Linked DNA regions of Homo sapiens: regions 1 and 2 are each linked to region 3. Evidence: promoter capture Hi-C in 16 types of primary human blood cells and fetal thymus (Javierre and others, 2016). All regions are on one chromosome and are shown on one strand. The core of a region is centred on a gene start or on the middle of the fragment in contact, and the rest is flanking DNA. Distances in the headings are between cores, read along the strand shown. Region 1 overlaps MYO16 (myosin XVI). Region 2 overlaps MYO16 (myosin XVI). Region 3 holds the start of LINC00676 (long intergenic non-protein coding RNA 676).

The links. The method cuts DNA at HindIII sites, captures the fragments that hold promoters and counts their contacts. A CHiCAGO score of 5 or more calls a contact.
Region 1: a contact is called between a fragment that was not itself captured here and the fragment with the promoter of LINC00676 in region 3, in 1 of 17 cell types (monocytes). The highest score is 5.0, in monocytes.
Region 2: a contact is called between a fragment that was not itself captured here and the fragment with the promoter of LINC00676 in region 3, in 1 of 17 cell types (endothelial precursors). The highest score is 5.5, in endothelial precursors.

The regions. Positions count from the first base shown.
Region 1 is chr13:109,129,333-109,133,016 of GRCh38, reverse strand. All of the region lies in intron 31 of MYO16 (myosin XVI), which reads right to left. Among named protein-coding and RNA genes, the nearest start is that of MYO16-AS2, 29 kb to the right of the region's middle. The HindIII fragment of the contact is 1,249 bases long and covers 806-2,054 here.
Region 2 is chr13:108,992,807-108,996,240 of GRCh38, reverse strand. The region is part of intron 21 of MYO16 (myosin XVI); the gene reads right to left. Among named protein-coding and RNA genes, the nearest start is that of MYO16-AS2, 110 kb to the left of the region's middle. The HindIII fragment of the contact is 1,011 bases long and covers 1,351-2,361 here.
Region 3 is chr13:109,726,821-109,730,241 of GRCh38, reverse strand. LINC00676 (long intergenic non-protein coding RNA 676) reads right to left here and starts at 1,968. Exons shown (of 3, transcript NR_103846.1): 1 at 1,697-1,968; 2 at 1,050-1,209; 3 at 208-284. The HindIII fragment of the contact is 6,623 bases long and covers 1-3,421 here.

The DNA.
Region 1 (3,684 bases), core at 181-2,680, 600 kb after region 3:
CTACTGCACTCGATGCTGTTGGCATGCCCTTCCTGAGCCTTTCGCAGTTTCCACGGAGGGCAAGGCACTCTGTGGCCCAGTGTGCACCCATCACGTCCTCACTGCTGTGGTTGTGCTTCCCCTATAATTTGTTTGACCACTTATCTCTCCTACTGGTCTGTCAGATCCTCGGGGAGAATCCAGGCTCATGGAAGACACTTAATTACTATTTGTTGGATGTACAACTGCGTCATAGGTGGTGAACTGTGCAATTGTGTTCTGTTATTCCCAGTAACACATTTCTCAGAAGAGCAACACAGAAGACCTAATTTCTGTCCATTTAAAATTTTTTTAAAGGGCTTCTGTTAAAAATATGCAGACAAATCTAGCCTTGACACATTTCAAGGGTACTTCTCGAACCTTGCCAAATTGTGCTCCCTCTCATATACCGATAGGAAGCAAATTCTCTTTTAATGAAGAGAGTGTAGAGAAATAGATTTCTGTAACATGTATTCACTTGGTAAGTATTTGATGAGTGCTTACTATGTGACACATGTTGTTCTAGAATGAAGACAGAAACAAGAGAGTAAAGAAAAGACATATTATTTCCAAATTAAGCCACAGAGCTGAGCCATGATTGTGTCTACACATGTAAACTGTGTTTTGTGGAGAATGCAGTTGTACAGCAATTTTGGAAAAAACAATTATGGTTTCATTAAGGTATGATCCCCAAGGAGGGGACAGCTGGAGTCTGAAGGGAGGGTGAGTGTGGAAGCATCAACATAGAACGGTGAACAGTGAGGACTAGAGCTGCCTGAGAAAAGCTTGCTTCTGCAATTTCACCTTGAGCAACCGTCACTCCAAGCCAGGCACAGCACCACTGACATCATGACTTAATTGCAAGTCCCACATCTTAGGATTTAGTATCCATTTCACAGATGAGGAAACTGACTGTCAGAGGCTTCATTAACAACAAAGTTATATGCATGTAACTTTGCTGTGCGCTTGCTACGTCCTGGGCAATGAGGCTTTACAGTCCTTTGCTTCTTAACTCCCCAGAAATAGCCCTTGCCATGTCTCGGCTGTTGCTGCTACTTGACATACATGGGCTTGGAAAGACTGAGTCACTTCTTCAAAGTCACACGCATGAAATGCAGGCTTATATTTAACTTCAGTCAGGAGACAATTCGAGAGAATGTTAACCGTCTTTGGGAGAAAGGCTGCACCCGGTGTGTGAGGAATGAACTCTGCAGAACAGCACTCCAGCTGGGAGGCCCCAGCCAAGAGGAAGTGAAAACGAGGCCCTATCTTTCCTTTCCTAGCCACTATTTGCAAAGAGCAACTGCAGGCTTTTATTCAATGGCAAAAACCACAATTCCTTTTGCACTGACCTAACAAAAACATAGTACTTTTAAAAAGTTGTCTCAGCAACATGGCACATGCATACATATGTAACAAACCTGCACGTTGTGCACATGTACCCTAAAACTTAAAGTATAATAAAAAAAAAAGTTGTCTCTAGCTTGCTGGTAGTTTGCAAAGAAGTGTTAACATTTATTGGCCTGCAAAATTGTTTCACGCTTTTGAGGCACAAAGGAAATGAGAAAAAATTGCTCTCTGTACTGTTTTCCTTCACCACAACCATTTTTATTGGGTGAAGACCTACCAGGAAAGACATATGCTAGTAAGAACAAGAATAAATACAAAGACAACTTTGAAGTGACCGTGGTGCTGGTCACCCTACAATCCTTGGCCCTTGGTCTCCGATCAGATCTCCTTTCACTCTGTAACCATCTGAATTGATTCGCAGCTTTATTTGTAAAGGAAAAGAACTTGAACTTGATTTTTTAACATGCCAAAAAGGATGGCTCAGGTACAAAACCAACTTCAGCCGTAGTCCTTGATCCTGCGAAACCAAGGTTCACCAAACATTTTAGAATAGTGATCAAATGGTCTTCCTATCTTTTGACAGAAAGGAGAATAATTTTGTGACACGTTACTAGATGCAAAAAATTCAGTATCACCGCTTGGTAGACACACAAAGCATTTAGAATCAGGGTTGTCTAAGAGAAGCTTCGGTGATGATGGAAAAATTCTACCCCTGTGGCTACTGAGTACTTGGAAAGTGACTGATGATGGAGGAATGAAATTTAAAATTGTATTTAATTTTATTTACTCTAAACTTAATTGGCTACGTGTGCCTAGTGGCTACTGCATTGAACAACAAAGACTTAGATTATACTCGGATTGTGTTGGACTGAGGGAGATGTCTAACATGCTAGGATCAATTTCATCACTGTCCTAACTCAACCACCTTCAGCTCCTGACATAATGGCACAGAAGGGACCAGAACCCTGTCTGACAGCTGGCTTATCACGTGTGGGTGGAGCTACCTTTGCGATCATGGATTACAAACCCAGACCACTGACAGACTGAGTGGCTAAGCTCCTGCGCTTGCCCTCTCTGACTCCCTAATGCTGTAAAAACTAATCAGCAAGCATGCTCAAGCAGCTTAAGCTGGTTAATTGTCTTATTCTTAAAAATATACAGTATTGAGAGCACATGCCAGAATGCAGAAATACATCTCTAGTTGCAGGAGATCAAAGACTTTCTTTTTGTGGTGGTGGTTGTAAAGTAACCAGCATGAAGAATTATGTACTGTAAGAAAGAACAGATAATGTAGATGGTAAAAAGGAAACAATGCATACACTTGCCCTTTGACAAGCTTCTGAAAGGTCTGCTCACCAGGGTGCGACACAGTGGACCAAACGCATCTCTAAGTACCTTATAGTCACATATGAGACAAAATTAGGATCCAAGAAACTAAATTTTACATAAATATCTTGCATGCCTAATGCTATCACATGATGTATTTTGATAGCATGTAATAAGGAATTTAAGAGTTATGATAGCTGTCTTCTTTATTAATCTTTTTTGGGGTCACTTTGCTTTCATATTATGTGTGTGTATAGATATATACATATGTGTGTGTGTGTGTGTATATATATCTCCTATGGTTCCTAACTTTTATTTTAATTGACTTTTTTTTTTTTTTTGCTGCCCATAGGAGAGAGCTCTCTGAGGTCAGCTTCTTCCTATTTGATCCCCCTTCATAACATGTGACAAAGTGGTCCCCTCATTACTCCAGGGCAGTGGTGTTTTAAGGTGCACACAAACCTTTAGCTTTTTCTAGATGTTACAAGGTATTCTGAAGCCTATTTATGCAACTTTCTAGAGCCTGTTTGCAGGGTTCAAGCTCGGATGGGGCTCCATTCTGTACTTGCTGCAATTTTCAATCACATTTCATTACTGTTTTTTCAATGTCTGGTACTATCTGGAGTCTTAATTTCGTACCCTCTCCATCTTATCGGTCTTAGCATTTTAGATACCATCTTCCTCACGCAAGCTGCCAAAAATCTTTCTTGTTATTCTAATCACACCTTTTTGAGATATGGGCCGCAAATCTAACATGGAGGCCTGAAAGTAGGAACAGTGGCAACGGGACACTCCCCGCTTTCTCAGGGAGGGTGCTGGTGGCTCCCTCAGATCCTGGGCTTCTCCTGGTATATGTGGCACCGGGGGAGAATGCCTCATATCTTTGGAGGTCCTGTTCTAATTTATATCTAAGCCCACGTCAATGTCCACTTTGAAGACTTTCCTATGGACGATCTCATCTAATGTCGTTTTACAGATTTTCTTGTTGTC
Region 2 (3,434 bases), core at 607-3,106, 730 kb after region 3:
GAAGTACCAAATTACTGCTGAGCTATGTGAACTATATTTTTTACACTAGTATTGTACTTATTATAAGAAATAATTTTGCTATTGTGAATAGTGCCGCAATAAACATACATGTGCATGTGTCTTTATAGCAGCATGATTTATAATCCTTTGGGTATATACCCAGTAATGGGATGGCTGGGTCAAACTGTATTTCTAGTTCAAGATCCCTGAGGAATCGCCACACTGACTTCCACAATGGTTGAACTAGTTTACAGTCCCACCAACAGTGTAAAAGTGTTCCTATTTCTCCACATCCTCTCCAGCACCTGTTGCTTCCTGATTTTTAATGATCGCCATTCTAACTGGTGTGAGATGCACTATTCACAATAGCAAAGACTTGGAACAAACCCAAATGTCCATCAATGATAGACTGGATTAAGAAAATGTGGTACATATACACCATGGAATACTATGCAGCCATAAAAAATGATGAGTTCATGTCCTTTGTAGGGACATGGATGAAGCTGGAAACCATCATTCTCAGCAAACCATCGCAAGGACAAAAAACGAAACACCGCATGTTCTCACTCATAGGTGGGAATTGAACAATGAGAACACATGGGCACAGGAAGGGGAACATCACACACCAGGGCCTGTTGTGGAGTGGGGAGAGGGGGGAGGGATAGCATTTGGAGATATACCTAATGTTAAATGACGAGTTGATGGGGGCAGCACACCAACATGGCACATGTATACCTATGTAACTAACCTGCATGTTGTGCACATGTACCCTAAAACTTAAAGTATAATAATAAAAAAAAGAAATACTTTTGAATAGAAATGATTCGTTAATTCTGCTATGGTCTGAATGTGTTCCTCCACAATTTGCCAAAGTGATGGGATTAGAAGGTGGGGCCTTTGGGAGGCGATTTAGGTCATAATGGCGCCACCATCCCGAGTGAGATTAGTGCCCTTAATAAAGGAAGCCCCAGAGAGCTGCCTTGATCCTCCCTCATGAGTGGATGTGGCAAGAAGGCAGCATCTATGAAGCAGAGAGCCCTCACCAGACACCAAGTCCACTGCCATCTTGATCTTACATTTCCTGGCCTCCAGAACTGTGAGCGATAAATTTCTGCTGTTTGTCAATTACCTCCTCTAAGGTATTTTGTTCTAGCTGCCTGAACTGACTAAGATAAAGTCAGAGAAAATGCGATCAGAATTTCCTATTAGCTGTAGTATCTCATCTTTTAGATGAGAATCCATTTAATCTTTTGGAGCTACTGGAGGAGACTGAGGTTGGAGATGCTGAAGTTTTGGAGTGTTTCTTAACATCTCCTCAAATGTGTCCCTACTCTAAACAATTGTCAAGCTTCCTGTGGAGGAACAATTGTCATTTATTCCTGAACAAGAAGAACCACTATGAAATCCACTATGAAGACTTTTTTCTTAGGAGTTTATTCTTCTTTAAACTTCAATTGAAAACATGTTCGTTGAACTTTTATTATATACAAAGCACAGACACAATTTCAACTCTGCAGGAGTTGACGTTCGAGTGAAGAACTGATGGATGGGTCAATAAGCGCAAAACAGAATAAAAAACATATTATAAAAGCACTAATATTCTTCTAGGTTTGATTCTGAATACAGCATTGATTTGTTAAGCATTTTGTTGCAAGTTTGTAGTGGAATAAAAGACAAAAAGTCCAGCTTCTGTTAGCAACACAGAAATCTAAAATGTATCGCTCAAACCAATGGTCTTAAAAAAAATTACATGCAAATTTGCACTCGTCAAAAGATGAGATTTGTACTTATCATAAGATGAGATTTGCACTCATCACAATGGAAATAATTTTATTCTTCTAAATGACTCCTAGTTGCTTTTGTACACAATAGCAAAGCAAACCTGTTAAAAATTATATATATATATGTGTGTGTGTGTGTGTGTATTTCAAATTTTTTTCAAAATTTAAGTCCCAGAATTGTTCTTGAGATTTTTACCCATAAATGCCTAAAGCTAGCTTTTGGCATTTAATAGAGACTGGCTCTTTAGATGTGAAAAAAATGCCATTACTATTATACAGAAATCTCAGGCTGTAAATGTATTCCAAAATAAATCATAAAAATATTTAGCAAAAGAAGGACTAATAAGGGATTTATATAATTGTAGTAAAATAAATATGTTTCAGTAAGAAAATAACTTAAAAGTTTTGCACGTATTCATCATTAGGACACTCTATTGACAATTATGTCTGGGTGTGGAGTTGCAGCTTGTGAGGCAAGTCCCCTAGCAGACTTTAGAGGACATCATTCCATCTGTAATTTCTACATGTCGCTTACCAGGAGATGGATAAACCAGTGACTCTCATTGCAGACATGAAAGCTTGCCTGTTTTCTAAGATAATAACATAAGGAATCTCTACTGATGCCAGACAGCTTCAAACCCTTGAGCTGAGAGATGCACCTTCTTAAGCACCCTGCAGACCCACATATATTGTCATATATTCTATTGGTCACACTCAACTGCTTTCTTCCTTATGTTCATCATTACTTTTCTCACAGTAAGCAATAAAAATAAACACATGAAGTATCTCCTTTTCTATTAATCCACAGAAAACTATGAAAGGAGAAGAGATCTATTGCCTCTATAGTTCTAGTTCAAACTAGACATTTTGTGAAGTTTTGTAAGGAACGTGGTTCGTGCTGACTCACCCTGGATTAGGTAAGTCAGCGTAATTAACATCTAAACACAGGATGATGCAGAGCTTTTCTAAAAATAAAATTGGCCAATTTTTAAGTTATTAAAGTGCTCCCATTTGCAACAGTAACGGGTAGGTATCCATCATTTCTTAATCATATACAGTATGAGAGTAACTGACACGAGAACCTGTTTAATTATGTTTAATCTCAGAACTCTGTAAGTCTATTAACCTGATTTTACAAACAAGAAAACCAAAGTTCACTATAGAGTCTTCATCTTGGCCAAGAAATCGACGCTACTAAAAGTCACAGACTTGCATCTCAAACACATTCTATTTAATTGTTTATCCTACCACACCACCTTAAGAAAATAAAGCTAAACAAATTACGTAACTATGAAAATTCCTCCCAAATGCTATGGAGTTGTAATTCTTCCCGTACTATAATGTAGCTTGGTTTTCTATTTTTTCATGTTTACCTTCCTACAGGTTGACTTTTCTCCTCTGTTTGATAAGGAGAGTTGTATTTCTACTGTCTTTATTAACACTTAGTTTTTAGGTATACTTAATAAAACTATTCATGCAGTGCTATTAAGATGACTACATAATTTAATACTTTTAAAATGCCCCAAATTATAGATGGATTAAAAACAACCCATGCCTCTCTAATGTATTTTTATGATTTTCCAATAGTCCTATGTATGAATGTCATATGGAGATGAATCTACAAATAACAGCATGTAGCATAACAGAGCATTT
Region 3 (3,421 bases), core at 719-3,218:
CTCGCCTCATTGCAACTTCCATCTCCTGGGTTTAAGCGATTCTCCTGCCTCAGCCTCCTGAGTAGCTGAGATTACAGGCACGGACCACCTTGCCCGGCTAATTTTTGTACTTTAGTAGAGAGAGGGTTTTGCAATGTTGGCCAGGCTTGTCTGGAACTCCTGACCTCAAGTAATCCTCCTGCCTCAGCCTCCTAAAGTGCTGGGATTACAGGCGTGAGCCACCACACCCGGCCCAAGTCAACGTATTTATAATATGTGAATTGTTTGCACACCTATTTCAAGCACTGGAAAAGAAAAAAAAGAAAAGAAACAGGTCCATGAATGAGGTAAGCAGAGTTGGACCCAAATACTTCAATGCCTTCTCAACAATTTCTTCTAAATGGCTTCCCGAAATTAGCTCTGCACGACCTATCTTTCTTGGGGGGTGGGGAAGCGATTACTTTTTAAAAGCCACATTAAAGTGTGTGTTCTATATCACGATGGCAGTTAAGGGAGGGGAGGCGTCTACAGCTGACCTGGGGAAGTTTTAATCATTGAACTATGCACAAGTGGGGCCGGGGCGGGAAGCGGCAGGAAAATGAGGCACCTTCTGCAGAACCTAGCCAGCCTGCAGGCGTTCCTGATCTGAGGAAAACACTTTAATTAATATGTAAAACAGCAGTGGGGAGAAAAGCAAGGTTAATTTCCAAACCACATCACTACCAGCGGTATTTGGGTTATGAAACCTTGGGAAACTTCTAGGAGATCCTGTTTGAAGGCACAGAGGTGCTTTTGTGTGTGAGTAGCTTCTGAGATGCTCAAAAGCTCTTTTATCTGCCCCCTGCAGTGGTATTGCTCTTTCTGTGTTTAAAAACACTGCCTTTGACTGGCAGGCTTTTGTTTTTAATTTGCAGTGCATCCTCCATTTTTGTTTGGAACTTGCCTGAAAGCAGCGTTTAGGGGAGAGAGAGCTGTTTGATTTCCTTTGTTGCGGCTTTCTTAGCTGCTGGCTACCTTTGGAATGTGTGACACAGGCGTCTCTCCTGGTTAGGAAAATGTTCTGTACTTGCCTGGGGTGAGACTGTAGCTCATTTCCTGGGTTGAGATCTAAAATCCTGAGCAGAGTTAAGTGTATCAAATAGTGGCTGTGCCAAGGATCAGTGTCTGGTGGAGACAGCGGATTTTCCAAGGTCATGGAAGTGAAGAAACAGCTGACAAGTCTTTCCCTAGCTTGAGCAGAAACAGCTCCATTCAGTGCGTGAACAATTAACTCAATTAGAGAATGTGCAGCTTTCTAAAGACGCGTCCACTGTGAGTGCGTGTGCCTGCGTTTCCTGCCTCCCTCTCCTCACAGACACCTCAAAAGCAACATATCTGAAAAGTCCTCTTAGCTACCCTGTCTAGGAGAAGTCAGAGGCTTGAGGACGATACTGTGTTCCTCCCACCGCTTGGTATCCCACCAACACCCGCTCCTGGCCATTAGACACTCAAGCATCTTTCAAGTAGGGAGATGACTTTTTTGGGGGTCATAGACTCCTTTGAGAATTAAAGTTTACCCCAGGAGGAAAATAATATCTGCACATACCAAGATCAGCACACACTTTCAGGGGTTTTCCCATACCTACTTTAAGCCCAATTAGGATTTCTGTACTAAAATCAATCCCTCTGTCCCATTTCCTCTGCCACAGCCGTATGTGCAGCCCCACGCGTTACTTACATCTAGCCTGGAGGGTTAACTTTGACTTCCCAGCTTCTGGCACAATTTCCTTCTCCATCGCAGGCCGGAGTGGTCTCCACATTCCCCAAGGGCTCACCCATGACCTTTAGAAGAAAGTCCAAGCACTAGCTTGGCACTCAAAGTCTAAGGAATTCTTCATCCCGTGCTCCAGGCACATGAAATGCCTGTGTTTTCGTGAGCAAACGTTTCTCCTGTGGCCTTCCAGTTTCTCCCAGTACATCCTGTGGACTATCGTGGAGGATTTGCATTGCAGTGTGTGCCTCTCAGGTCCATGTTGGAGTGCCCTGCGTCCGCCTCCCTCTGCGCGGTCCACTCAGCTGGGTGGCGTCACTGGTGACTGGGCTTCTGCCTCCTTCCTTTCACTGGGAGACTCCTCAGTCAGAGTCTGGGTCTTCATCTCTAAACCCCCCGGGGCAGCAGCAGTCCCTGATTTTGACATAGGAGATTAGGACTGCAGCTTGTAGGGAGGTGGTGATCCACGGAGGGGCTTCTTCTGAAGCTGACTTTTGTAGCAAGCACAGTGTTCCAACTTACATTAAATACACGTGGGGTGGCTTGATATGACGATGGAGAAGATCCCACATTGCACAAGGTGGGAGCTAAAGCCCCAGTCCTCGCCCTGCAGCTGTAGTACACAGCTTCACAGTTACGTGCACTGCCACATGTATGTAATAATCTGGTATGTAACAGGTGCTTGTTGAATATTTGTTGGATGAATAGATGAGTGACCCTAGAAAAACACAATGCAGACCTATGGGTAGAAGAAGAAAAGAACCTGGAGTTTCCTGGAAGTTAGGGGTTCCAGCCCACCTCTGTCCACAGCCATGTGATCTCACACACACACACACACACACACACACCTACACCTGCACCCATGAGCCTCCCCACTTTGTCAGGGATCATGATTCACAGGTTATGCTGCATCTCCTAACTTTTCCATTTCTTTGCACTCACTTTTTCACTCCATTTATAGGCACACAGCAACCCCGTCTCCTGCAATGACCCCTGCTCCAGGCCTCACATAAACCACCTGCTATCTGTACTCGGCAGCCCTGGTCCGAAGGCAAACACAGTCCTGGTTGCCCCACCTGACGCAATTGCTCCTAGCATTTCTTATTCACTCTCCAGCTTTCGCTTGGCTCTACCCTCTGCTGAAACAGCTAACCCTCTTGCCTGGCAGAGTCAAGGAAATTTTTGAGTCCAGGGCCTTCAACCTTGTGTCTTCAGGAGCCTCTGCAAAGCTGGGTGCCATGTAGGTGGGCTCTCTCCTTCCACTCCCTGTCGTCTTCATTCTCTAGCCCTCCGTATCACCCTTCTGGGCAATTCTTTCTCAGCTCACTTAGCGAATGTAAGGAAGTGTTTCATTTTCAGTCTTTCAAATCTTTTTTCAAATACTTCGTATTCAATCATTTCCTCTTCTTGGATAGAGTTTTGTGTTTTAAGTACAGTGTTATCCAATGGCTAGATCCGCACCTCTAGCCAGCTCACCACTCTGTGGCCCAGACTCTCTTTGCCAACTGTTTAACTCTCGTGTATAAATGACAGGCAGCTGCATATGTCCATATGTCCAGCTGTCTGTTCTGCAGTGGGTCACTTATGGGATCAGATTGTACATCTGCCTGTTTCACTTCAAATTGCCTCTTCTTTGCAAGCATCCAGGGGTGTCTTGCCTCACATACAAACAAACACAGAACAAAACTAAAA